2 separate regions of the Homo sapiens genome follow, and region 2 is linked to region 1. The links are contacts of gene promoters, found by promoter capture Hi-C in blood cells and fetal thymus (Javierre and others, 2016). All regions are on one chromosome and are shown on one strand. Each heading gives the region's core, a stretch centred on a gene start or on the middle of the fragment in contact. The rest is flanking DNA. Distances are from core to core; before and after follow the strand shown.

Region 1 (4,787 bases), core at 1,129-3,628:
GCCTTCCTAGAGAGCTAGGTCCCTCACCCCACTTCTTTCAGATCTTTATTCAGATGTCACCTTCAAACAGAGGGCTTCCCTGGGCCTAAGATTGTAGCTGCTTACCTCCCCTACTACTTACACACACTCCAAATCTCCCCTGCTTTATTTTTTTTCTCATCACTTACCACTAACATGTTAAATGATTTTAATTTTTTAACTTGTTTCTTGTCTCCCCTACTAGAAAGTTTGTTCTACAAGGACAGGAATTTTTGCCTGTTTTGATCTCCATTGTTATCTTGGCATGTAAAATAGGGCCATAACAGACCCTGAGCAATTATTTATTGATTCAATCAATCATTCTTAAAGATTAGGCAAGATGGCCAGGCACAGTGGCTCAAGTCTGTAATCCCAGCACTCTGAGAGGCGGAGACAGGAGGATCGCTTGAGCTCAGGAGTTCAAGACCAGCCTGGGCAAAATGATGAAACTCCATCTCTATAAAAAATACAAAAACTTAACCGGACATGGTAGCGCACATCTGTGGTCCCAGCTACTTGGAAGGCGGAGGTGGGAGGACAGCTTGAGCCCGGGAGGCAGAGGTTGCAGTGAGCCGAGATCATACCACTGCACTCCAGCCTGGGTGACAGAGTAAGATCCTGTCTCAAGGGAAAAAAAAAAAAAAATTAGGCAAGAGAATTTACATGTATTGATTAATAAATGATAGTGTCACACACTCATTTAATCAACAGAACCAAAGAGACTGGTAGTATTACCTCTATTTACACATGAGAAAATTGAAACTACCCTGAGGCATACAGCTAGAAGACAGAAGATCTTGGTTTCAATTTCAGGTCTGACTGAGGCCTTATTCTTTTTTAATGCATCACACTAACACATCAAACCCAATCATGTGAGTTTGTAATAAATGTGTCTCTCTGCACCCTCTTCCCAAGTTAACAAGGTTCTGGCTGGAGACAGTATAACCAACTAGTTAAAAGCAGATGCTGTGGGTTACACAAACCAGGGTTAGAATTTTGCTCTATCACCTACTAAAGAGGTATCTCTGTATGACCTACTTGTCCTTCCCATGTTGTCTTCTCATCTGTAAAATGGGGACAGTAGTAGAGCTTAATCATCCAAATAGTTGTGATATGTAAATAGTACTCAAAAAGAGTTTTAGCACAGTGCCTGGCACATTGTAACTTTCATTCAATCCTCATAACTTCCAAAAATTCCAAAACACCAATGCAACGTGTGGGAAAAGTCCAGTCCTGTTCTGTTAACATCATATTTAACCTACTTAGTTCCTGTATAGAAAACTACCTAATGAAAGCACACCTGTTAATTACCAGTTTACTGGGCATATATTATGTGCTGCGAATGTTACACAGACTGTCTTATTTAACCTCATAATGCACATCATTTATATACGAAACCAGGAAACTATAATTCAGAGGAGTTGAAGTTGCCCAAGGTAACAGAGTTAGCCAATGAGTAGTGCTTTGGGTTCTGACTCCAAAGCCTAGAACTTCAGCAAGCTTCAGGGTCTTTAAAAGATGCAGGTTGAAGGAATCACTGTATTCCCATCAGGAGAGAGCAGTATCCCTATGAGCTGTGAACTGAAAGGTAAACACCAGCTCTTTAAAATTATATATATATATAAAATATATATGCATATATATAGAATATAATATATATGCATATATATAAAATATATATGCATATATATAGAATATAATATATATGCATATATATAGAATATATATATAATATAATATATATATGCATATATATAGAAACATTTTCTGAACACGCCTTACGAACGAGGCACTGTGCTAGGACAGTCACATACTCTATCTCATTTAATCCTAACAGCCTGATAAAAGAGTAAGCACTATATTACGCCCATTTTGCAGACAGAAAATCGAGGATAAGCAGAGTGAATAACGTTCTTAAGGTCACGCAGGCAGGAAGTGATCAAGCCAGGATTCAAACCCAGCCAGGTCTGAGTCCAGAGCCGGTCCTCTCGAGGGCCAAGCTCTGGCAAAGGTAAAAGGGTAGTGAGTTGGCTAGGCCTGGAAGAGGACCTGCGTCTGAGATACTGATCGGGAGCGGTGGCCGACCCTTTGCGTGGTCTCTCTCGGTCTCTCCCAGGACTCGGGCCCTATTCCCGCCTGGGAGGCCCCACACTCACGATGAGCCCTCGGCGGTTGGGATCGTTGTACTGAAGCAGGTACTCTCGTTTCAGCTGGGCTCTTATGGCCAACCGCTCGGCTTGCGCCCGCCGGGTTTCCGGAGATATGTTGTATTCGGCTGGGTCGAGGGTCTCAGGCAGAGTGCGCAGGCTCGACGGCTTATACTTTGGGAACGACATCTTGGCGAACCAGGGCACAATTGCGCCTGCGCGATTCTGAGGCCCTTTGTCTATGCTGACCTTCAGCTTCAGGAAGTGCGCCTGCGCGTTAGCAGAGGTTGGGGATGTCGTTAACAAGGAGCTCCGCCTCTTTCTCCTACCTTCCCGAACACGGCGCGTTCGCTCGGTGATATGCGCATGCGCGAAGTGCTCTTCTCGCAGTGCGCCCTGCCCCACCGCCGCTCCCCACCTACTCATCTGTCACCGCGCTGCTTCTTCCTAGCAGCCTTGTCTCTACTGACATAACCAGGGCTTATTATGTAAAGTTGAGCTGTGTGGGACTGGCTGTGGAGTCAGAAGTCCGGGTTTTCATTGTGGGTCTAACCGTGCTGTGTCACCTTGGATAAGTCACTTAAAGTCTCTGAGTTTCCTTTTCCTTATCCTGGAGATAATGACTCCTGTCCACCTAGCAAAGTTGTTGTGAGGATTAAATAAGCTAACAAATAGATCACAAAGTGCTTTGCAAAACAGAATTCCCTACCCAAGAAGAAGAGAATAAGCTTTTCTGTACTTTACCATGCTAGATTCATACAACATTAAGTGTAAGCTTATTTTTCACAGGTACGAAATAATGATTAATAGGAAAAATGATGTTATAAGAGAAATGTTGCCTGACTGACTATAGAAGGTCAGGAAGAAAATGAGATACTGAATAAAGCTCATGAGAAAACATCTTAGTTAAAATACTAAAACCTCTTGCCTAAAATCCTTAGCACTCTTCAGATGCAAAGAATTAAAAACATCCTTACAGGTATGAAAATACTCATAGGGGCATGTATCTTATTGTAAAAGACGATCTGGGGCGAAAACTGAAGTAATCAGAAACAAAACCTTCTCTGTCCCTACTGTCCTTCCTTCTCCCCAGTTACCAAGGAGAAAAACAACTTCAAGTTTCACAGCAGGGTCTTTGGGTTCCCCTTCTCCTCAGGGGAAAAAATGTAAACAATATTTCCATAACTCGGGCAAAGAAGGATGGATCAAAAGAGAGCCCCAGCTTGGCTGAAACGTCTGGGGGCGCGTAGGTATGTTGGGAAATGGTTGCTAGAAAAGGGACCTAGAAAGTGTTGGCATTTGAAATGATGAGAAGCAGCACTGCTGTCAAATTTATTCAACATTTTAATACTGTTTTAAAATATTTATTAAGCACCCACCGCGTGAAGCACACAGCACACTAGTCAGTGTTAAGTCAATCTTCTAGGCTCAGTGGGGGAAATCCAGACAAAATGGAAGATGGGGTGTTTGCCTTTCGGGAGCTGACAATCAGGCAGTACAGAAAGAATAGGCAGAAATGGTAATATTTCAAAGTAGTCTAATGTCCAGATGAATATAGAGCAAAATGGACTCATGAGGATTCAGGCTGAGAGAATGTAGAAAAAATGAACACAAGACGAGTTACTCAGACTCGATTTTAAAGGAGAAAAAAAAAGGAAATTCTGACTTGTTCAAAGGTGTTTTGAAATACTAAGAAAATAATACAATATGAAAAGCAAGAGCAGTTTATAAAATTCTAAAGACTACATAAAGTTTCCAAAACCTGTATAGATTAGACACTGATCTAGGAAGGAGAGCATGTAAAAAGAATAAAAGGATAAAGGAATGAGTCCAGCGAGTACGAACTGATGCAGGGCAGGCGAGCCCCAAAGTGGGGCTTAGGCAACCAGGGAACTTGGCTTTGCCCAGGAAAGAATTCAAGGGCAACCCGGAGGTAGAAGAAAACAATTTTATTGAAGAGGCAGTGTTACAGCTTTGGTGGTGTCACAACCGTGACTGCTCCTGTAGAGCAGGGCCACCTCATAGGCAGAAAGCACCAGCTCAGGCCAGCTTTGAGTCACATTTATACCCACATTTGGCAGTTTGGCCGGGCGCGGTGGCTCACGCCTGTAATCCCAGCACTTTGGGAGGCCGAGGCGGGCGGATCACGAGGTCAGGCGATCAAGACCATCCTGGCTTACACGGTGAAACCCCGTCGCTACTAAAAATACAAAAAAAAATTAGCTGGGCGTGGTGGCGGGCGCCTGTAGTCCTAGCTACTCGGGAGGCTGAGGCAGGAGAATGGTGTGAACCAGGGAGGCGGAGCTTGCAGTGAACCGAGATCGCGCCACTGCACTCCAGCCTGGGCGACAGAGCGAGACTCCGTCTCAAACAAACAAACAAACAGACAAAAAAGTAAAGAGGCAGTTTATGCAGACATTTCTAGGGAAGGGGTAGCAACTTTTGGGTCATCAGGTCATTGCCCTGGAAAGGGGTGGTAACTCCTGGGTGTTGCCATGGCAATGATGAACTGACACACTGGTGTGTGTATCTGATGGAAAGCGGCTTCCACCTCCGACCTGTTTAGGCTAGTGCTCAATTTGGTTCGGTGTCCGAGTCCTACCTCCTACCTCAAACCAGCTG
Region 2 (4,787 bases), core at 865-3,364, 920 kb after region 1:
TAGGATTGAAAGACTAGTCTGAACAAATTGTTCCAGTGGTAACAGTAAGTGCTGTTGAACCTTGAATGGTATGACAGCATGATTAAGAGTCTGGGATCCACAGTCAAGGTTTGAATCTTAATCCACTAACTTGGTGACCTTGAGCCTCATGTGTCTGTAAAATGACTCTAATAAAAGAAACTCCCTCCAGTATTATTGTAAAGGTTAATGATACAAGCCATGTCAAGTGGCTAACACAGTATACATGGCAATAAATGATCAATGAATGCTAGCTATTATCTTCACAATGATCTCACTATCCCAGGCAATCTCCCATTTGCAGGCAGCTCTTGAGCTATTGAAGGATGGGTAGAGTTTCCATGGAAGGAGAACCTATTCCCTTTGTTAAATTCCCTTTGCCTCGATTGCCTCAGACCACGTGGGTTCTCCCCAAATATCCATAGTCAGGAGTCAGTTTTTCCTTGTAATTGAATTGGGCTTAACTTGATTATTTGCAAAATCACATTTTCAGGCCTTAGAAATAAAGCTGTGTAGTCCTAGTCTTTACTTTGTGAATTTTACAAGTAAAATATTCTTTGATCATCATGAGGGGGTGTTTATCTCGGTCTCCTGGCTACCAGATGTTTTTGATGTAATTAGAAGTAGATTTATTTGGTTGTGTTTGAATGTAGGGCAAAATCAGAAAGTTAATTTCTCTGTGATAATAAGCAAAAAATTGAGCTGTTCTCTGTGCCCTTCATTTAGCATAAATATTTTACTCAGTTTATTTCTTTATAGAGCAGTGTTACTCCTTGGATATTGACTAGAGGCAATATTTAATATGCGTGATTATTTCTTATCAGATTTCCCCCCCAAAATCACTTATCTGTGGAATGTCTTCATAGGCATGGGCATATCATAAGATCAAATAAAAACAAAGCTGTTTGAGGTAATAGCGTTTGTTTTAATTCCAGCTACATTCCATTATACCCGTGTTTTGTCTCACTCCCCATCACTATCATGCATACTTAATAATGTGCTTAATGCATATTTAGATAACAAGTACATTTTGTTTTATAGTATCATCGAGAAAGGAGAAGAACACTGTGGACATCTAATTGAGGCCCACAAGGAATGCATGAGAGCCCTAGGATTTAAAATATGAAATGGTAAGCTTCTTGCTTCAAAGTTGTGTATTGCTTTACAGATTTAGCAACAATTGGGCTACATTCTCTCTGAAAGGTAGTTCACCTGGTTAATCTAAAATGCTTAAGTATCAATTTGAAAAAACCATGATTTTTCAGTTCCCAATGAAGGGAGTAAATTATGTCAGTAAAGACAGTCATTTAGCGGATTGGGGAAGGGGAGAATTGAGCTTTTAAGAAAGGGTTTGACAAAAGCCTTTAGGTCCCATGGCTTTAGGAAAATTGACTGAGGGAACTAAAAGAAACATATTCTCTTTCTTGTTTCTAATAAATATTGTGGGACTTCAGTAAATGCTTTTTTTTTTTTTTTTTTGAGACAGGGTCTCACTCTGTTACCCAGGCTGGGGTGAAGTGGCCCAATCACAGCTCATTGCAGCCTCAACCTGGGAGGTTCAGGTGATCCTCCCCTCAGCCTCCTAAGTAACTGGGACTACAGGTGTGGGCCACCGTGCCTGGCTAATTTTTTGTGTTGTTTTTTAGAGATGGGGTTTCACCATCTTGCCCAGGCTGGTCTCAACCTCTTGGACTCAGGCAATCCTCCTGCCTTGGTCTCCCAAAGTGCTGGGATTAAGAGGTGTGAGCCACTATGCCTGGCCAAGAAATGCTTTTAAGTAGGGAGTGGGTATCCCACGGAAGTATTGCTTTCTGAAAAATGAAAATGGAATTGTAGCATGCTTTATTCGAATAAAACTAAAGCCTCAGGCCATTTTTTTTTTAATTAAAAAGTAAACTTTAATGTCAAAAATGCAAACTTGGGGAAGACAGAAAAGATCACACACAAGGCTGTCACTTCACACTTGGAAGGTTGCACAGCGGCCGGGCAGAGGTGCTCCTCACTTCCCAGACGTGGGGCAGCCGGGCAGTGGTGCTCTTCACTTCCCAGACAGGGCAGAAGCCGGGCCGAGGCACTCCTCACTTCCCAGACAGTGGGCAGCTGGGCAGAGACGCTCCACACTTCCCAGACGGTGGGGCGGCCAGGCAGAGGCGCTCCTCACATCCCAGACAGGGCGGCAGCTGGGCAGAGGCGCTCCTCACATCCCAGACGGGGCAGCAGCTGGGCAGAGGCGCTCCTCACTTCCCAGACGGGGCAGCAGCCGGGCAGAGGGGCACCTCACTTCCCAGATGGGGTGGTGGCCAGGCGGAGAGGCACCTCACTTCCCAGACGGGGTGGCCGGACAGAGGTACTCCTCACTTCCCAGACAGTGGGCAGCCGGGCAGTGGCACTCCTGACATCCCAGACAGGGCGGTGGGCCTCAGGCCATTTTTAAAAGAACTTGGAACTCTTAACCCATTTTAAGTGCTGAAAGGGACCTTAAGTGGTATGTGTCCAACAATTCCACAAACAAATGATACTCTTTTGTTTGGAAGCTCTTTCTTCAGTTATCAACTTAGCTCACCCCCTCACCCCACTCCCTCTTTACTCAGGTCTCTTTCAAAAGTCTCCTTATTAGAGAGGCTTTCCCTCAACACCCCATGTAAATTACATCCCTTCCCCATCACTCTATCATGGTGCTGTCCTAAGACCTTTCTGTGAAGATGGAAATGCTCTGTATCTGCACTTGCCAGTCTGGTAGCCACTAGCCATATGTGGCTGTTGAGCACTTGAATTGTGGCTGGTGAGAGTGAGGTACTGAATTTTTAGTTTGTAAAAATTTTAATAGCTACATGTGGCTAGTGGCTACTCTATTCTATACACTGTCACCTGCATGATACATATATTTTTAATTACCTGTGTTGCTTCACGGCAGCTAGAATGTAAGCTCTGAGAAAGTAGGAATTTTCTATTTCATTTACTGTCATATCCCCACTACCTATAACAGTGCCTGGCTCATAGTAGGTGCTTAATGGAGGATTGTTAAATGAATGAATAAATAAGGAAATTAAAGCTTATAGTTATGAAATGGCCCCCAAGGTGGGTTGTGCAGTATCAGAACTGGAGCCTCAGTCTCCATGCCGATTCCCTCTGCTTTTTGCCCCTACCCTAACTTCCACACCACACTACCACTTTTAACTTAATAACAGCTGAGAGAGAATGCCAAAGCCATATGCCAATATATTAGTACTAGAGAGCCTGGCTTCTTTCCCTTGCACCTCTTTCCTGCCTCTTTGGAATTTCACATATGGCCAGTCTTCCTCACTGAGCTATAAAAAAGGAGGGATAAGGAACTTGTCGCAAGCTGATAAGAAGTTACTGTGTAATGGAAAACAGTCTAGGCTGAAAGTCCTGAGGCTTTGTTTTTATTCTCCTGATGTTTAGTTTATCATGTTTTTAAGTTTAGCTACATTTAGCTTCATCAAGACATTACTCCTCTGAATTTCACTTATTATTTATAAAAAGAGAACCATAATACATTTTGTGATTCTATATATAGTATGGTATATCTACTGTTGTGTAAATGATATACTTAAGTTGCTTTTAGAATAGATGGTTATTTAAAGAAATCCCATAATGAACTATTTTATAAAATAAGTAAATTTGAAGGGGAGTGTGTTCTTAAAAAGTATGTGTACTTTATTAACTATTTTTAAAGATGCAACCTTAACATTTGTACATGGTTTCCTTGTTCATGATCTAACTCCCTCGTCAGTTGTGTAAGCTGTAGGCTTGTGCTGAACTTGCCTTGATAAAAAGGGGTGATTAAATAAAAAGAAATGCTAATTTTAGGAATATCAAAAGCTTATCTTGGACTTCATCTGAACCACAAAGGTGGTACAATTGTTATAAGTGGCATATATTCAAAAGTATCATATGATATCATAGTTTTCTTTATGTTATCAGGGCAGAGAGTGAGAATTATGTTTGTGTACTTCATTTGTGTGTAAAAGAAAATGCAAAAGCTTTAGACTTAGAAAATCTACTGCTTAACTGATTGTGTGGTCTTGGGCAGGTCCTTAACTTTCTGTACCTTGGTTTCCTCATCCGTAAAATGGAGACAATAATACATGCCCAAACTACTTCATAGAGTTGTGATGATTCAATGTAAAATAAATCATCTGTAAAAACCAGAACAGAATAGCTCATACCTTTAGAGTTGTGGATAGCAGACATTCAGTTGAGGTCTGTTAAGTATATGACTTGATTATTATTGAATCCTGGTTACAAGAAGAACAATCTGAATCCATATAGGACCCTTCTGAGAATTCAAACTGCCATGTTTTTCATTTTCAGTGTAATAATATTTTGGGAAGAGGACTGGGTGTTGGATCCTTATTGGTCCCAGGTGTCCTATTTCCCCAACCTCCATGGGGAAATGGAAGCACAGTGAAGTCAAAAAAGACTTGCTCAAGTTAGGAGTGGATAGTGGTAGAATTAGATTAGAGTTAAGATTTTTATATTCTCTAAATCACAGGCACTTTACACTTCACGCCTTGTACTTAATGAGATTTTATTCCAACATATTCATTTTTAGGATTGCACATAATCTTGATCTTCAATCTTAAAACCTCATTATGAATGCTAATTAGAAAGACTTGTTGCGGAAATGTACAGTTGCATATAACCCAGTAAACAGGCCATTGGCTGGAGGGTGAAATCCAACACAACTGTCTGCATTGCTATAAGATAAACTTAACCTAAATCGGTATTTCTTAGACTGTTAGATC

Evidence for each region. Contacts are between HindIII fragments. The CHiCAGO score rates a contact against its expected background, and 5 or more counts as called.
Region 2: a contact is called between a fragment that was not itself captured here and the fragment with the promoter of NDUFB4 in region 1, in 2 of 17 cell types (total CD8 T cells and fetal thymus). The highest score is 6.6, in total CD8 T cells.

The regions. Positions count from the first base shown.
Region 1 is chr3:120,593,927-120,598,713 of GRCh38, reverse strand. It overlaps NDUFB4 (NADH:ubiquinone oxidoreductase subunit B4), which reads right to left and starts at 2,378. Exons shown (of 3, transcript NM_004547.6): 1 at 2,175-2,378. The coding sequence starts at 2,354. RefSeq lists enhancers at 858-927, 1,968-2,307. The HindIII fragment of the contact is 1,375 bases long and covers 1,521-2,895 here.
Region 2 is chr3:119,671,506-119,676,292 of GRCh38, reverse strand. COX17 (cytochrome c oxidase copper chaperone COX17) reads left to right here. Exons shown (of 3, transcript NM_005694.2): 2 at 1,060-1,148. The coding sequence ends at 1,144. Among named protein-coding and RNA genes, the nearest start is that of COX17, 3.5 kb to the left of the region's middle. The HindIII fragment of the contact is 1,917 bases long and covers 1,156-3,072 here.